Regions from separate parts of the Homo sapiens genome. Here region 1 is linked to region 2. The links are contacts of gene promoters, found by promoter capture Hi-C in blood cells and fetal thymus (Javierre and others, 2016). All regions are on one chromosome and are shown on one strand. Each heading gives the region's core, a stretch centred on a gene start or on the middle of the fragment in contact. The rest is flanking DNA. Distances are from core to core; before and after follow the strand shown. Region 1 has its middle 48 kb from the start of DHRS7C. Region 2 holds the start of STX8 (syntaxin 8).

Evidence for each region. The method cuts DNA at HindIII sites, captures the fragments that hold promoters and counts their contacts. A CHiCAGO score of 5 or more calls a contact.
Region 1: a fragment that was not itself captured here is called in contact with the fragment with the promoter of STX8 in region 2 in 1 of 17 cell types (megakaryocytes); the score reaches 5.1 in megakaryocytes.

The regions. Positions count from the first base shown.
Region 1 is chr17:9,741,518-9,746,327 of GRCh38, reverse strand. No RefSeq gene overlaps it. Among named protein-coding and RNA genes, the nearest start is that of DHRS7C, 48 kb to the left of the region's middle. The HindIII fragment of the contact is 1,796 bases long and covers 2,035-3,830 here.
Region 2 is chr17:9,573,124-9,577,418 of GRCh38, reverse strand. It overlaps STX8 (syntaxin 8), which reads left to right and starts at 1,599. Exons shown (of 8, transcript NM_004853.3): 1 at 1,599-1,627. The coding sequence starts at 1,611. CFAP52 (cilia and flagella associated protein 52) reads right to left here and starts at 777. Exons shown (of 14, transcript NM_145054.5): 1 at 654-777. The coding sequence starts at 723. RefSeq lists enhancers at 515-644, 1,437-1,616. The HindIII fragment of the contact is 4,659 bases long and covers 1-4,295 here.

The DNA.
Region 1 (4,810 bases), core at 1,683-4,182, 170 kb before region 2:
TGGAAGGAAACACTCCAAACTGGTAATAGTGACTTCTGGGAAGGTTATTGGGATTCTGACTATATTGTGCACATGGCATTATTTCTTCTTTCAACTCTTCCATATATTTGAAATTTTTTACTATGGTCATACATTGGTTAATAGTTAATAAAAAGCAGTAAACATTTCATATAGAATATAGGGCGTTTTCTCTTCTTTTGCAAGGATATTCACTTGTTTAGGAAACCAAGAGGCCATTTCAGACTCAAAATTTATCTGGTCTATGAGGAAAATACTAAGAGGTGGTCCCGTCTGTTTTTGTGTTTACAAAACAACATCATTACTTTGCATACCAACATGTAAGATATTCTTTCCCCCATCTCTGTGTCTATGTTCATTTTCTTTGTTGCCCACTACTTCTGAGTCAACTTTCAGCCAATATGGCAGGCTGAATTCAATTAAAGGACTTCTTCCTCTGATTCCAGAAATAAAATAAAACAACAAAATTTTTAAGATATAGGAAAGCTCAAAATTAAGAAAGGGATCTCTTCAGGTGTCAGTAAAAAAGGAGAATTTCAGTCAGACCAGTGAACAGATGCCAAACAGCACAAAGGACTATTGGAACTGATCACTGGTTGGGCGTTTGGTCCCTGCAGAGCTAAAGGAGTATTATCTCTGGAAGACTGGAGGACGGGGCACAGAAGTTGAGCTACCTACAGAAAGATGAGACCCCGTAAGAGATGCCCATTCATCTACAAAGTAAGAATGAGAAAAATTTACTTGTGCCAGGTATCAATGTATTGCCTTCTAATTTATGCTTCACTGTCGGCTCTATGAAAATTGATCTGGGCCCTGGCCGGGCGTGGTGGCTCACGCCTGTAATCCCAGCACTTTGGGAGGCCGAGGTGGGCGGATCACAGGGTCAGGAGTTCAAGACCAGCCTGGCCAACATAGTGAAACCCCATCTCTACAAAAAAAAAATACAAAAAATAAACCAGGCGTGGTGGCGGGTGCCTGTAATCACAGCTACTTAGGAGGCTGAGGCAGGAGAATCGCTTGAACTCGGGAGGTGGTGGTTGCAGTGAGCCAAGATTATGCCATTGCACTCCAGCCCAGGCAATAGTGTGAGACTCTGTCAAAAAAAAAAAAAAAAAAAAAAAAAAAAAAAAAAAAAGAAAGAAAAGAAAATTGATCTGAGCCCTTTAGATATTTTTCCATTTCCAGATAGTATGATGTCAAGTTTTGTCAGTAGAGGGCGCCAGAGAGGGATTTCAGCCTGGGTGCTGGAGTGCTTCTCTCAGCAAGCCCCTGCCGCACAGGCAGGGCTTCCCCAGTGCCCAGCTCCTGCAGCAGAGGCAGCATGTCCAACAGCAGGCTCCCTTAATGCAGGTGGCTTTTCCAATATCCAGCTTGTGCGGTGCATGGCAGCCAGCAGCTTCCCCAGCAACCCCCTTGGAGTACTGTATTGGAGTGCCTCCTGGGAGAAACCTCCTTTGAATAGCTTCCCCTACAACATCCTGGAAGGCAGATTTCCCGCCTTCCAGGGTGCAGTACCACTCAACTTGTCTCCAACCAGTGGCCATAGATTGGCACCCCAGTCGTGGGGATGTAGGGTCTCATTCCTGAATACTCTATCTGAGCCCCTAGAGGTATATCTGCTATTCCCACATTCTTTTTTTTTTTTAAGAGATGGAGTTTCACTCTTTTCGCCCAGGCTGGAGTGCAATGGTGAGATCTCGGCTCACTGCAACCTCCACCTCCAGGGTTCAAGCGATTCTCCTGCCTCAGCCTCCTGAGTAGCTGGGATTACAAGTGCGTGCCTCTACTACGGGGTTTTACCATGTTGGCCAGGCTGATCTTGAACGCCTGACCTCAAATGATCCACCCACCTCAGCCTCCCAAAGTGCTGGGATTACAAGTGTGTGCCACTGCGTCCGACCCTCCCACATTGTTTAGAATTCTCTTTACTTATTATGAGCCAATTCCTCAATAATCTGTTATAGTGTTGTTATGCTGTAACATGTTGTAATTAATAAGGTATATTTATATTAAGCTTGTTCAAATTACTGTGTGGTTTCTGTCTCCTAATTGGACTCTGACTGCTACTTATAGCACCAACATCAGGGACTGAGTAAAGGAGTGGAAAGAAAACAGTCTCACCTTCCTCTGTGCCAGTCTGGTTCCCAGCAGAAAATCCAACATCCACACAAAGAGGAGAAAGTCAAAGAGTGTTCTTCTTCCCTTCCTCTTTGAGATCCAGGGTCCTGGCAAGGAAAACACATCATAGCTGAATTGAAGAGCTCTCTGGGTTTTAAGATAAAATTAAGTCCTTCCCAAGTTCTCCTCATCATAGAAGAATTTCCTCTGCAGGTGCCTTATGTCCCAACCGAAACACTCACTTTTGTTCTACATTCTTCCTGAGTCTTCCCTTAAGATTTACAATGCTCTCTTTGATTAGAAGGTTATAGACATAATAAAAATGAACATTTATTGAACACTTTTATATGTTTGGCACTATTGTGAATATTCCCAATGAGTGTAATCCTCATCACAGTTCAGCGAGGTAGGTTGCCTCATCAAGCTCATTTTATAGATGAGCAATTTTCCAAATCCTGCATTTAGTAAACAGTGGATCTGGTCATCAAATCCAGAAAGTGTGACTCCAGAGCCTTAACCACTTCCCAGTACAATCAAACAATTGTCCGAGCTAGAAGATCCTCTTTCTACATATGCCATGTAATGAAAATAAGACACAGGGGGATGAGGTGACTTGCTCAAAGTCACTGCAATGAGCACGTGTCTGGGACAAAAACTCACCTCCCAGTCCTTGGTTGATCTCTCTCGAGTAGCCGCCCAGTCCCCTCAGTGCTGTTCTAAGCCCTGTAACCTTTGTTTAACCTCTCACATGAGGTTATCATAAGCCATTTACCTAATAGAAGCCCTACTCCGAGATTCTTTTATCTTTAGAAGAATCCTGAAGGAATGCTTCTTGTGTTTCACAGGGCTTTCGTCAGGAGGCGGCTTGCCCTGTTTCAGGTGTGGATGCGGATGTCTGGTTTTCCCCCAGGCTGGTGAAGAGCCTTGTGTTGACGGTGTCTTGCCCAGCGTCCTCAGTCCCTGAAAGGAAAATGAAGATACCAGGTCACCTACAAGAGATTGTCAGCCGGGCGTGGTGGCTCACGCCTGTAATCCTAGCACTTTGGGAGGCCAAGGTGGGCGGATCACAAGGTCAGGAGTTTGAGACCAGCCTGGCCAATATGGTGAAACCCCATCTCTACTAAAAATACAAAAACTAGCCGGGCGTGGTGGCACGTGCCTGTAATCTCAGCTACTCTGGAGGCTGAGGCAGGAGAATCACTTGAACCTGGGAGGTGGAGTTTGCAGTGAGCCGAGATTGCGCCATTCCACTCCAGCCTGGGCAACAGAGTGAGACTCCATCTCAAAAAAAAAAAAAGGTTGTCGTGGAGAATATGTTGTCTAAGGGACAGCACATGAGAGAATGGGAATGTCAAACCCAAGGAGACACATGCCATTCTGAAAACGTTATCATTGATACTCAGCTCAAGTGCTTCATTCATGGCAAACATCGGAGAAAATTACAAGGCTAATAACACACTCCAGTAGTCGGCATCTGCAAAAGGGCAGGCCACATCCTGAGGACGCTCCCTCTACATTCGCCCACTAGCCACTCTCTTTCTCCAATAAAAGATATCTTTAAATATGTAAATTCCTTCACACCAGAACATAATTTAATGTAACAAGACAAAGTTTTTCTCCTAGAAGATATATAAAGAATGATGTTCAGGACACTGTTTCTTTTTAGGACATTTTTGTTTTCAATGGCAAAAGCTTAGAAACAATCTATGGCCAGGCACGGTGACTCACGCCTGTAATCCCAGCATTTTGGAAGGCCAAAGTGAGAGGATCCCTTGAGACCTGGGGTTCAAGACCAGCCTGGGCAACAAAGTGAGACCCCCCCATCCCTACAAAAAAATTTTTTTTTAAATTAGCCAGGTATGGTGGTGCATGCCTATAGTCTCAGCTACTCAGGAGGCTGAAGTGGGAGGATTGCTTGAGCCTGGGACGTCAAGGTTGCGATGAGCCGAGATCATGCCACCACACTCCAGCCTGGGCAACAGAGTTCAACCCTGTGTCCGAAAAAAAAAAAATCTACATGCTCCTGAATTGGGGGACAAACTATGGTTCATTTGCATTAAGAAGTTATAAGCAACATTTGAAAAGAATCTATAGGGCCAATCTATAGAGATCTGGGAAAAGCTCCAAAATTTTAAGTTGGAAAAGAAAGCAAGTAGCAAAACAATAACTTTAGTATGGTGGTACGTAACTAAAAACCAATTAGGCCAGGCACGGTGGCTCACACCTGTAATCCCAGCACTTTGGGAAGCCAAGGAGTTCAAGGAGGTCAGGAGTTCGAGACCATCCTGGCTAACACGGTGAAACCCCATCTCTACTAAAAATACAAAACATTAGCCAGGCATGGTGGCGGGCACCTGTAGTCCCATCTACTCAGGAGGCTGAGGCAGGAGAATGGCATGAACCTGGGAGGTGGAGCTTGCCATGAGCTGAGATTGCACCACTGCACTCTAGCCTGGGCAACAGAGTGAGACTCCATCTCAAAAAAAAAATAGTAATAATTACAAAAGAAGATAGAAATGTCTGTGACAGCATGGTGGGTGAGGTATTCATTGAATTGGCCCTTCCAGCCCGGAAATAACTTCACAGGCTTTCCCCCATCTAGAAGCCAGATTGAACACACAGACTGCTCTCTGAAAGATAATTGAAAGCAAAGAACCACACACTAAAATTGCCA
Region 2 (4,295 bases), core at 350-2,849:
CAATAGGCAGTCACAAATAAGATTTCAGCGGAGCGGCCCAGTCCCTTTTTCTCTCCGCTTTAGCTCCCCCTGGCGTCCCCTTCCCCTTCTGTCCTGGTCTGAAATCCTCATCATTTAGAAACCTTCCTTAGGATTAGAGGACCAACAACATCCCCTCAGGGGGTTGCTCAAACACACGTTCCCTCCCAGCCCTTTCTCACTGGTACGCCAGTTGGGATTTTAGCAGATTTCCTAGCTGGTCCCAGGGGCCGACACAGACAGCATCCTTCTGTGTGGTTACGAAGGAGCCTAGGGCTTTGCGAGCGGCGTGGGGTTCAGAGCCAGGAAGGGCTGACCTAGTGGGAGAAGGGTTACAACCACCCGTACTCATCCGGCCCGCCTGGGGAAGAGGCATTTGGTCCCTTTTAGGTGCTGGCGCTTGTCCGAGCTGGTAAAAACCATCTCACTCCCTGAGGCTTGGATCGAGGAAGTGACTCTCCAAGGCCTTGGGGCAGGTCAGGCTGTGCGGGTCCTCCTGTGCGTGTCCCTGGCCAGGGCTCCTGCCGTTGTCCCACACTGCCTTTCAGGTGTCCCCGGTGTCTCACTATTCCTGTTTGCACTACACGTCCTCCGAATTCCTAAACCAGCCAGCCCAAAGATGCTGGAGGCCTCACCATTGAAGCCGATCACGGCGTCAAGTTCCAGCTCCGCCACTTGGGCCTCCGGCGAAATTTTGTTATCCATCCTTGGGAGGTTCTGATTACTTTGCTCTCCTCCCTAGTGGCTGCAGCGTCTTCTGGTCGTTATGGTAACGGACGAGCGCATGCGCTCCAGCTCCACGCCCGCGCAGAAACCCAGCCTGCCGAGTTCGAGTTCATTAGCATTCTTGGAAATGAAGGGGTATGGGGACTGGAAGAGAGATGGGGTGGGACTCCTCTTCTTTTTTTTTGTGCTATTTCTCTGGAAATTTAGGGGATGGCACTAACTGCGCAGAACTAATTCCTCCATCCCCTTGTGTAGAGTCTGTGACTTCTTAGTAACTCTAAAATCAAGCACCGAATGAATGGCATTTAAAAAATATGTAATCAGGCGTACAGGACTGATAGGAAGGCTGCTATAAAAAATATATATAATTGATACTTCTTTGGGCCCCTGTTTGGAGCAGTGTGAAAAAAATTTTAAAGATTTTTTAAAAAGCGTTGAGGTATAATTTACATATCATAAAGTTAACTTAAAGTAGGTTGTAGTGAGTTTACGCAGCGTGCAAGTCTCACCGCAATCTAGTGTTTTGTTTATTGTTTTGTTTTTGAAGCAGGATAAATTTTTAAGTAACTGCTACAGAGAGGTCTTGCAGCGCTCCCACCTTCCTGGGAAAATGCTTTGTTTCTATTTAACAATTTTAACTGAGCTTAGCAGTTCGCGTCTCTTGGTGGGAGTAGATTGCTCCAGTGTACTGTCCGCAGGGGAGCGCTTTGCTTTCTCTGATTATAGTTCTGAGGCCCTAGCTACTCACTTTGCAAACTCCAGGCTCCGGTCGCGCACGGGACGAACTGCGGGGAGTGAGCCGCGCGGGCCGCCGTAGTCAGCTGCTAAGAGCAGGAAGAGTCCGAGCGGCGGGCGGAGTCTGCAGGATGGCACCGGACCCCTGGTGAGTCCCGGGTGAGGGCGGCGGTGCGTGGAGGGACCTTCGGGGAGGCCGGGCTTCCGGAGAGCAGGCAATCACTTCGCATTGCCGCTGGTGGCCTTTCGGGATGAGGGGAGGGGCAGCGAGACCTTTCCTTTACTGAGGGGGCTCAGCCACATCCCGCCACACTTGGTCCTTGCAAGGGTGGCCCGGGAAGGAGACCAGGTGGTCCGCTGGAGAGCTGAGGACTTACGCCAAATCTCTGAATATTCCTTTAGCTTTTCTGGGCTGCATCTCGTTGCGGGGATTTCCCGCCCATCCTGGTTTTGGAGCTAGCTGGCTGGTGCAGGCTTCCCTGGACTCCTATAAAAGTGAAGTCGAAATAACGTTTTTGTAGCATGTCAGTCCATCCCGGTAAACCCCCTTATTTCACAGGTGGAGAAACCGAGGTTCAGAATCCATGGCCACCAGCCAGTTAGTAACCAGCTGGGGCTAAGACCTAGATCTTGGGGGCCCTTCCAGATACAGGAACCTGGGAGGGAAATTGTGCACTTGTTTATAAGGCATTTTGCACTTTCTTGAGTTAATATCATGAAGTCTTTTCCTTTAGCAGTAGCTTCTGCAGTAAAACAATAGCTGATAAGGGTGATTTATTTAGCAGTTAATCCCAAGGACTGCATGATGAAAGATGCAACTTTTGATCCCAAGGAACATATTGTTTGATCCCAAGGAACGTATTGTTATTGAACATAGACTTGACCTTTCTGCTTAATAATTAAAAACATATTACAGCTCTATAACGTTCTTGTTGGAATATGTGTCTTATGTTGTTATTTCTAATATAGTTTATAATTGTTTAAGTTGCCCACATCCTGGATATTAGAAGAATGGATTCCAAGAACAAAGTTGAGTTACCTGGAATCTAGGTTATTTGGGCCAATTATTTAATTTAGCATTTACTTTTTTAAACCTAATTTTAGGCCGGACGCGGTGGTGGCTCACGCCTGTAATCCCAGTACTTTGGGAGGCCGAGGCAGGCAGATCACCTGAGGTCGGGAGGTCGAGACCAGCCTGACCAACATGGAGAAACCCCGTCTCTACTAAAAATACAAAATTAGCCGGGCATGGTAGTACATGCCTGTAATCCCAGCTACTCGGGAGACTGAGGCAGGAGAATCGCTTGAACCCGGGAGGTGTAGGTTGTGGTGAGCTGAGATCGTGCCATTGCACTCCAGCCTGGGCAACACGAGCGAAACTCCGTCTCAAAAAAAAATAAAAAACCCCAAAATCCCTAATTTTAACAGTTATATACACCCCTTGATAGAGAATATTCAATTTAGAGAATATTGAAAATTTGCAAAAAGGAAAATAAATAGCATCTTTAACTCTATAATTTGGAAATAGCCATTAATGATTTTTTTACAATGAATTTGTTATTTTAATCTATATTTTTATATATATATATAATATAAACAGCATTTCTCTATGTCATTGGACATTCTTTGAAAGCATAACTTTCTTTTCTTCTTTTTTTTTTTTTTGAGACGGAGTCTTGCTCTGTCTGTCACCCAGGCTGGAGTGCAATGGCGCGATCATGGCTCACTGCAACCTCCACCTCCTGGGCTTAAGCAACTCTCCTGCCTCAGCCTCTGGAGTAGCTGGGACTACAGGCGCACGCAGCCACGCCCAGCTAATTTTTTGTATTTTAGTAGAGACAGGGTTTTACCGTGTTGCCTAGGCTGATCTTGAACTCCTGAGCTCAGGCAATCTGCCCGCCTTGGCCTCCCAAAGTGCTGGGATTACAGGTGTGAGCCACCGCACCTGGCCTCATAATTGTCTTATGTTGCAAAATAATGCATCACATGAATGACCATAATTTATTTTTCTCCTATTAGTTTTTTGTTTTTCTGATGTTTTGTTTTGTTTTATCATTGCAAAGGGAGTCCCTTTGTTCTATCTCTTATTTCCTTGGGCTCCCTGTCTAGAAGTAGGAATTAGAACTGTTGAAAGTGAAGCATTTATACTTTTTTTGTTATTCTCAATCAGTTTGACTAAGTGGCTTTCTCATTAGACTGTTGAAAGTGAAATAGAACTGTTGGGCTCAAGGGTATAAACATTTTTAAGGCCCTTGATACTGTGAACCCCAAAGTATCTGAGACAGGTCTCAGTCAATTTAGAAAGTTTATTTTGCCAAGGTTAAGAATGCACCCATGACACAGCCTCAGGAGGTTCTGAAGACCTGTGCCCAAGGTGGTTGGGGAACAGCTTGCTTTTATACAATTTAGGGAGAATAATACATGAATTAATACATGTAAGATTTATGATGGCTCAATCCAGAAGGGAGGGACACCTCGAAGGGCGTGGGGGGCTTCCAGGTCATAAGTAGATTGAAAAATTTTCTGATTGGCAATTGGTTGAGTTATTATCAATAGAAACGAATGTCTGGGTTATGATAAGGGGTAGTGGAGACCAAGATTTTATTATGCAAATGAAGCCTCTGGGTAGCAGGCTTTAGAGAGAATACATTGTAAGTGTTTCTTATCAGACTTAAGGTCTGTATTGACGTTAATGCTGGTTGGCTTTTCCTGAATTCCAAAAAGGAGGAGAGGATATATAATGAGGCATGTCTGATCCCCTCTTCCCATCATGGCCTGAACCAGTGTTTCAGGTTAACTTTGGAATGCCCTTGCCT